Linked DNA regions of Homo sapiens: region 2 is linked to region 1. The links are contacts of gene promoters, found by promoter capture Hi-C in blood cells and fetal thymus (Javierre and others, 2016). All regions are on one chromosome and are shown on one strand. Each heading gives the region's core, a stretch centred on a gene start or on the middle of the fragment in contact. The rest is flanking DNA. Distances are from core to core; before and after follow the strand shown. Region 1 holds the start of FAAH2 (fatty acid amide hydrolase 2). Region 2 overlaps NBDY (negative regulator of P-body association).

Region 1 (4,043 bases), core at 804-3,303:
ATATGAATTCATTTAATTCATCACAATAACTCTAAAAGGTAGATTCTATTATCAAATCCATTTTTCTTAAAGGACATCAGAGACACAAAAAGTTAAGAAATGCTTTTAAGGCCGGGCGCAGTGGCTCACACCTGTAATTCCAGCACTTTGGGAGGCCGAGGTGGGTGGATCACGAGGTCCGGAGATCAAGACCATCCTGGCTAACTCGATGAAAACCCGTCTCTACTAAAAAATACGAAATATTAGCCGGGCATGGTGGCGGGCGCCTGTAGTCCCAGCTACTCGGGAGGCTGAGGCAGGAGAATGGCGTCAACCCGGGAGGCGGAGCTTGCAGTGAGCGAAGATCGCACCACTGCACTCCAGCCCAGGCGACAGAGCGAGACTCCGTCTCAAAAAAAAAAAAAAAAAAAAAAAAAAAAAGAAATGTTTTTAAGATCACAGAGCTAGATCGTAGAAAAGCTAGGATTTCTGAACCCAGGGAGTCTGACTCTAGAGTCCATCCTTCTAATCATTATGTTACACAATCTTCTATGTGCCAGGTTCTTGATATGTATTATCTGCTATTGGTGTGGCACAAGGTCACAGAGCCATGAACAGACAGTCCAAAATTTGAAATATATCATCTTTCTACTATTAGGTTGGTGCAAAAGTAATTGTGATTTTTGCCATTAAAAGTAATGTCAAAATCTCAATTACAAAATCACAATTACTTTTGCACCAACCGAATACATCCCATTGCCTCCCTAACTGGTAGAAAAGCATGCATGAGTGGGTAGAGGCTGGGGAGGGGGTACGGCAAGAAGACAGGATATGTCTTTGAAAGGTAACCAGGAGTACAATACAAATATTAATAATTCATACATTCAGGAGCACATACTGAGATAGTATTTGCTGCATGCCTATTCTTTGTTAAGTAGTATTGTAGATTCTGGAAATAAAGCAATGACGAAAAACAAATGAAACAGCAGAGAGGTGAAAACAAGCAGAGTATAAATAAACAATACTAGACTGTAGCTCAAGATCTCCAGGTAACCAATCACTTATATGACAGAGATGAATAGTCCTGCCTGCACAATTCTATAGAGAACGAATGAGCTGCTTAATTTTTTTAATTTAGAACTTTCAACAATTTTTGTGCAAATCATTTTACTTCAGTTTCCTTATGCATAAAATATGAATATTGCCTATATAACTGCATCCGTGAAATAGAATATGTTTAAGTACCCAGGCAGAGTATTTCACATATACTATGCAATAAATATATGGTAGACGCAGCTTTTACTATCCTAGACCAAGTACTACTTTTACTTTAAATCAATTTTAAAAAGAATTGGTTGAATGGTAAGCAGCAGGTTGATCTGGGGCCTGTGAGAGACGGAAGAATAGAGAGAGAGAAAGGGAGAGGGAGAGAGAAAGAGAGAGACTGACTTTCCATAGCTGAGAATCAGTTTGAAATTCACACCTGCTTTACCCCACACACAGTAATTATGCACAAATAGGACAAATGGATAGGAAGGACTATGACGGTACCAAAATAGTCCAACCCATGCCCACAGTAAATGTCCTTGGTAAAAATAAACGTACTACAACACCCAGAAGTCTCCCTTCATCCCCAATAAATGCCTCTCCTAAGTCGCCCTAGTAGAGAATGGAAAGGAAACCACAACCACCGCCACCACTAAGCTTCCTGGATCCTGCTAAAAGACCTGTCCCTCCAGCCTCTTCTGAATTGCATTCTCACCTTTCTCTGTCGGATCAGCTTGGCCAGCTGCATCCCCGAAAGCAGAAGCAATGGTTCAGTCACCGGCCGAGGGGTCTTTGAGGCAAACTTTGGACCCCCTAAGACTAAAGCTGCTCGGCCTACTAAGCCTATGAGAAAGCCTAGCGCCCGCAAGAGGAACAACTGAATGCGGGCGGTAAATGAAGGTGCCATCGCAGCCTGGATTCCGCACGGTCCTAGTGCTTGAGGGTTACGTGCACCCTGGGGAAAGGACGAGAAAAGTACTAAGCAAAGAGGGACTTATGAAGCTTTTCGTTTACAAGTCCAGTGTCTACCCACAATTCCACAGGAGCTTGTTTATCATCACCTGCAGGGCTCCTAGCCAGAGATGGGGGCGGAGACTTCCCAGCAGCTGCCTGTGTGCAATGCTACCTGTCGTTAGTGCTGTTGTAACCCAAGACAGAAAATGCGTCATAAGAAAGAACACTGGCCTTGGAATTCCCCAGTTCTGCTACTGTGTAGCCCTGGCCAACCTACACTATATCTCCTAGTCAGTTTACTCATAAGAAAAAAAATGGGAATAACTACTCCTATATCAAAGGGTTACCATAAACACTAGATAATAAGTAAAAACATTTAGCACAATTTATGGTAAATAGTATAAGTGGTAGTTGTTATAGTTTATTTCAGCTGTGCTTGTGAAAAAAGTGTTGTAAGTATACCTTTGTATGCAAATATTCAGTATGCTCAACAAACAACTAAATGGCAAGTATATATATATTTTCCATATGCATATTATTTAATCCTTATAAGATCACTAACAGGTAGTACTGATGAACATCAAATCTCCAGCCCATCTGTCTCCTAAACTGGACACTTGAAATGCCTTTTTTGACATATCCATGTGAATGTCTTCCAGATCGTTCAAACTCAACAAGTCCAAAACTCATCCTTTTGTCCCCCAGACTGCTGCCCCTACAGGTCTACAAATGGAATTTTCATCCACCCAGTCAGCCATGCCAAAAATCTAGAATCACTTCAGATTCTTCCATTTCTCTTATTCTCATGACAGAATCCAGCCCTTCCTTCTCAACTCAGTCTGGCTCAGATCTCACTGAGGTTTACATGAACTTCTACAAATAATCTAGCTGATCACTCTGCCTTTATTTATAGAGTGTTCTTTCTAATATGTAAATCTGACAATATTACACCCCTGCCAATAACTCCGCAATAATTCTCCATTTTCCACAGATTCAAGACCCATCTACTTTGTCCAGCATTCGACTCTCATGACTGGTGTCTGAAAAACTCTATGCTTCATCCCTAACCCCTTCTATCCCTCACATGCTAAGCTCCTGACAAACAACTATCCGAAAGTTCTCTCTTCCCTCCTTATCTTTGCATCTGCTTTCCCAACCTCTTCATCTAGTTCAGGACAAGTACCACCTCCTCCAGTAAGTCTTCCCTGAACTTACAACTGGGTGTGATGCCACTCTTTTGTAACCCTGCACTCCACAGATTAACAAAATCATAGCACTTACAACCCTCTGTTATGTGTTAGGTTTTTGTGTCTATGCCCCATCTAGATATAAACTCCTCGAAGAACAGGGTCATTCTAATTCCTCTTTGTATTGCCAGAGCCTGACATAGGGCTTGATGAGAAGTCAATACAGGTTTGTAGGCTGAAGGTATGTGATTATGAGATAATGAGCGTTGAAGATAGGGATTCGAGCTTGGCATTTAAGGTCTTGGGTAGGTGAAATGACAACGTCATCCAGGTCACTGTCTTTTCACCTGCAGAACTTAGGTTGATACTGAAAGTGTCATCACAGCACTTCTAGCCTAATTCAAGCACCTGGTAGAAAGCAGGTTAATCATGACAGGCACATCTAGCAGATCCAGTAAAGAAAGCTGATAAAGCAGGTTGTCATAATCTAGGCTCCATTACAGTTCTGAGCAAAACCTGTTAGCTGAGTGAAACTTCCTTACCAGAGAAAGGTTTTGTCAAAATGAAAATATTTACTTTGCCCAACTTTTGTTACTTTATTTAAGTTGTAAATGACAAATATGTGAGCCTGAGGTACAAAGAATGCTCACTGATTGGGCTCTGACCAGACAGACCTGAATCCAAATCCTAGATCCAGCACTCATTATGTTTTTGACCTTGAACAAATCACTTAATGTCCCTAGGTGTGTTTTCTCATCTGTAAAGTAGAATAACAGCTGCCATATGGTGTTATGAAGATTAAATCACATATGGATGTAAAGCTTCTGTTTTTTTTTTACAATCTTAAATATTTTAATTTTATATTAATAGTTAGAC
Region 2 (4,043 bases), core at 695-3,194, 470 kb after region 1:
CAGTTTTGGAATCCAAGTCTATTGTGCAGGCCTAGAGCCTGGGTCTGCAGGATCCTACCTAGTGCCAAGGTAGGCCTGGAAGTTCAGTCTGCATGTACCAGCCTGGAACCTGGGGCTAAGGGGGCCTCTCTGGTGCAAGGTTTTACTGGAATGGGCCCAGTTTGGGGGTTTGAGGAAGTCCAGTACTAAGCTTTTTCTTCTTCCCCTCATAGATGTGTATCTTTCTCCATGCTGTGCTACTTAGAGTTGGGGGAGGGGTGATGTGCATAATGTAAAACTGTCCTTTTTCCACTCTATTATTTTTTCCCCTTTGGAAATGGAGTCTTGCTCTGTCGCTCAGGCTGGAGTGCGTGGCGCAATCTTGTCTCACTGCAAACTCCGCCTCCCAGATTCAAGCGAATCTCCTGCCTCAGCCTCCCAAGTAGCTGGGATTACAAGTGCCTGCTGCCACATCCGGCTAATTTTTGTATTTTTAGTAGAAACAGGGTTTCATCATGTTGGCCAGGCTGGTCTCAAACTCCTGACCTCAAATGATCTGCCCTTTCTCCACTCTTAAATGCATCTTTCTTTATTTGCTACACCCAGGTGCTGTAATCTCTCACTTGGTTTCTTTAGGCCTTGTAAAGGTAATTTTGCGCATGAATAGTTGTTCAAATGGATACTTCTGCAAGGTTATGAGTGCTGAAGAATTCCATTTTGCCATCTTGCTGCATAGGAATTTAATAAGTTGGGAGAGGCTGGCCAGGCATGGTGGTTCACGCCTGTAATCCCGGCACTTTCGGAGGCCAAGGGGCGGGCGGATCACCTGAGGTCAGGAGTTCGAGACCAGCCTCAACATGGAGAAACCCTGTCTCTACCAAAAATACAAAATTAGCTGGGTGTGGTGGTGCATGCCTGTAATCCCAGCTACTCGGGAGGCTGAGGCAGGAGAATTCCTTGAACCTGGGAGGTGGAGGTTACAGTGAGCCAAGATTGCACTATTGCACTCCAGCCTGGGCAACAAGAGTGAAACTCCGTCTCAAAAAAATAAAATAAAAGTTGGGAGAGGCTGCCTTGGGAGGTGCTAGCCAGACATCTATTGTTTTAAACAACTTGAGATATGCACATATAATACAATCCGTGATTTAAAGTGTACAATTCAATGGTTTTGGATATTTATAGATAAGCATAGATATGTGTAAATATCACTACAGTCAATTCTTATGCATTTTCATTAACCCTGAATAAAATCACACAGTCCTTAGACATCAATTCTCAATCATAACTTAAGGGAAACTCCATCCTTAAGCAAATATTTTTTCTGAACCTATAGACTTGCCTCATGTGGACATTTTATTTATATGAAATTATATAATATATGGTACTGTGTGACTGGCTTTTTTCACATAGCATAATGCTTTTGCTTTTCCCAGACCACCAGGCAAGAATTATTTTCCTTTTTTTTTTTTTTGGCATAATGCTTTCAAGGTTTATTCTGGCAGTATGTATACTTATTTCCTGTATATGACTAAATTAATATTCCATTGTGTGAATATACATTTTGTTTTCCATTCACCAGTTGATGGGCATTTGAGTTGTTTCCACATTTTCCTAGTACAAATATTTCTGCTGTAAACCGTCCTGTACAATTTTTGTTTGAACACCTGTTTTTTAGTTATTTTGGCTATGTATCAGGAGTAAAATTGCTGGGTAGCATGTTATTTCTTTTTTTTTTCTTTTTTTTGAGATGGAGTCTTGCTCTGTCATGCCCAGGCTGGAGTGCAGTGGTGGGATCTCGGCTCACTGCAACCTCTGCCTCCCAGGTTCAAGGGATTCTCCTGCGTCAGCCTCCTGAGTAGCTGGGCTAATTTTTTATATTTTTTAGTAGAGATGGGGTTTCACCATGTTGGTCAGGCTAGTCTCGAATTCCTGACCTCAGGTGATCCATCCACCTCAGCCTCCCAAAGTGCTGGGATTACAGGTGTGAGCCACCACGCCCAGCCATTATTTTTAACTTAGAGAGGAACCACAAAATTGTTTGCCCAGTGGCTGCACATTTATCATTACCAGCAACAATGCCGCATGTTCCTGTTTTCCCACATTCTAACATTTATTATTTTGCTATTTAAAATAATAATAATAATAAGTATCCTACTGGGTATAAATTGCTGTCTCTTTGTGATTTTGATTTGCATTTCCCTGATGACTAATAGTGTTGAGCATCTTCTCATGTGTAATTTGTGATTTGTATGTCTTCTTTACAGAAGAATCTATTCAGATCCTTTCGTTATAAAATTGGTTTATTGTTTGTTTTATTATTTAGCGGTAATTACTGTTTATTTTATTTTATTATTTTGTTTTATTTTTTGAGATGGCGTCTTGCCCTGTTGCTTAGGCTGGAGTGTGCATTGGTGCAATTTTGGCTCACTGCAACCTCTGCCTCCCAGGTTCAAGCTATCCTCCCACCTCAGCCTCCTGAGTAGCTAAGATTACAGGCATACACCACCACACCCTGCTAATTTTTTTTGTGTGTGTATTTTTAGTAAAGATGGGGTTTCATCATGTTGGCCAGGCTGGTGTCAAACTCCTGACCTCAAGTGATCCCCCTGCCTCAGCCTCCCAAAGTGCTGGGATTACAGGATGAGCCACCATGCCTGGTCTTATATATTTTAGATACAAGTCATTTATGAGACATATTATTTGCAAAAATAATCTTGCACTGTGGCTGTCTTTCAAATTTCTTGACTGTGTTCACTGAAGCAAATTTTTTTTCAATTTTAATTATGTCCAGTTTATCTTTTTTTTCCTTTATTAACTTGTGCTTTGGTGTAAGAATTAAAAATCTAATACTTAATTCAAGGTCACAAAAATTTATTCTATATTTCCTCCCAAGAGTTTTATAGTGTAACCCTTATATTTGAGTCTTTGGCCTATTTTGAGTTAATTTTTGTATTTTGCATGAGGTAGGGGTGGAAGTTTTTTGTTTTTTTGTTTTTTTTTTGCATGTAGATACCAAGTTGTCCCAGTACCATTTATTGAAAATAGTTATTTCCCCTTTTGTCTTGCCTCCTTCTCAGAAGTTAATTGGCTGCAAATTAACTTTTGTGAGGGCTTATGTCTGGACTTTGGATTCTATTTCATTGATCAATATTTATATCCTATGCCAGTACCACATAGACTTGTTTATTGTAGCTTTGTAATAAGTTTTAAAATTTGGAAATGTGACTCTTCAAACTTTGTATACTTCAAGATTGTTTTGGCTATTCTGGGTCCATTACATTTTCATATGAACTTTAGAATCAGGTTATAAATTTCTTCAAAGTAGGCAACCTTAATTTTGATAAGGGTTGCATTGAATAGTTTGATTATTTTGAAGAGTGTTGTCATCTTTATAATACTGTGCCTTCTGATGCATAAAATGCCTTTCACCAGATGTCCTTTTAAAGAAGTCTGTGTTTACTGTTTGTGATGTTCAGCCTGGCTCAGAAGTTTTAAAACTCTAATGTGTGATTAGTAATATTATACAATCTTTAAAATAACTGTCTATAATTTATTAAGTGTGCATAACATAACTCTAGAATATACATAAATGTCACCATACCTCCATTTGTGATTTTTCAGATTCTTTAATTCTGATGCTAGGGACTAATTTCAGAGGATTGGGTAAAATACTCAGGTTTCACAATCTCTCTAAATATTCATTTTACAATGTAAGCTTTAATTACTTATTTGAACAAATTGTATTATTATTTTATATTTTAATTTATAAGCCAAGTTTATCTGACATTTTCAGATATAATATATGCTTTCAAGTCTGTTTATCTTTTATTATTACAATTCAAAGGTAGAAGCTTTATTTTTTTATATCCCTGGAAATTATTATAGTCTATAAATTTTTTTCTATAACCTTGTAATTCCTGAAACATTTATGAACTATATGAAATATTGAAAGCTGCTATCTAATGTTTTCCCATTTTACTTGTATTTTTTCACCATAATATTTATTACTGTTTTTAATTAGGATATTCTATTTGTTCAATACTAAGCATTTTAGAAGGAAAGTA

Evidence for each region. The method cuts DNA at HindIII sites, captures the fragments that hold promoters and counts their contacts. A CHiCAGO score of 5 or more calls a contact.
Region 2: a contact is called between a fragment that was not itself captured here and the fragment with the promoter of FAAH2 in region 1, in 2 of 17 cell types (activated CD4 T cells and total CD4 T cells). The highest score is 5.6, in activated CD4 T cells.

What each region holds. Positions count from the first base shown.
Region 1 is chrX:57,284,716-57,288,758 of GRCh38, reverse strand. It overlaps FAAH2 (fatty acid amide hydrolase 2), which reads right to left and starts at 2,053. Exons shown (of 11, transcript NM_174912.4): 1 at 1,742-2,053. The coding sequence starts at 1,933. The HindIII fragment of the contact is 1,960 bases long and covers 2,031-3,990 here.
Region 2 is chrX:56,817,923-56,821,965 of GRCh38, reverse strand. NBDY (negative regulator of P-body association) reads right to left here. Exons shown (of 3, transcript NM_001348129.2): 3 at 2,787-4,043. Among named protein-coding and RNA genes, the nearest start is that of NBDY, 91 kb to the right of the region's middle. RefSeq lists a silencer at 1,516-1,810. The HindIII fragment of the contact is 3,504 bases long and covers 193-3,696 here.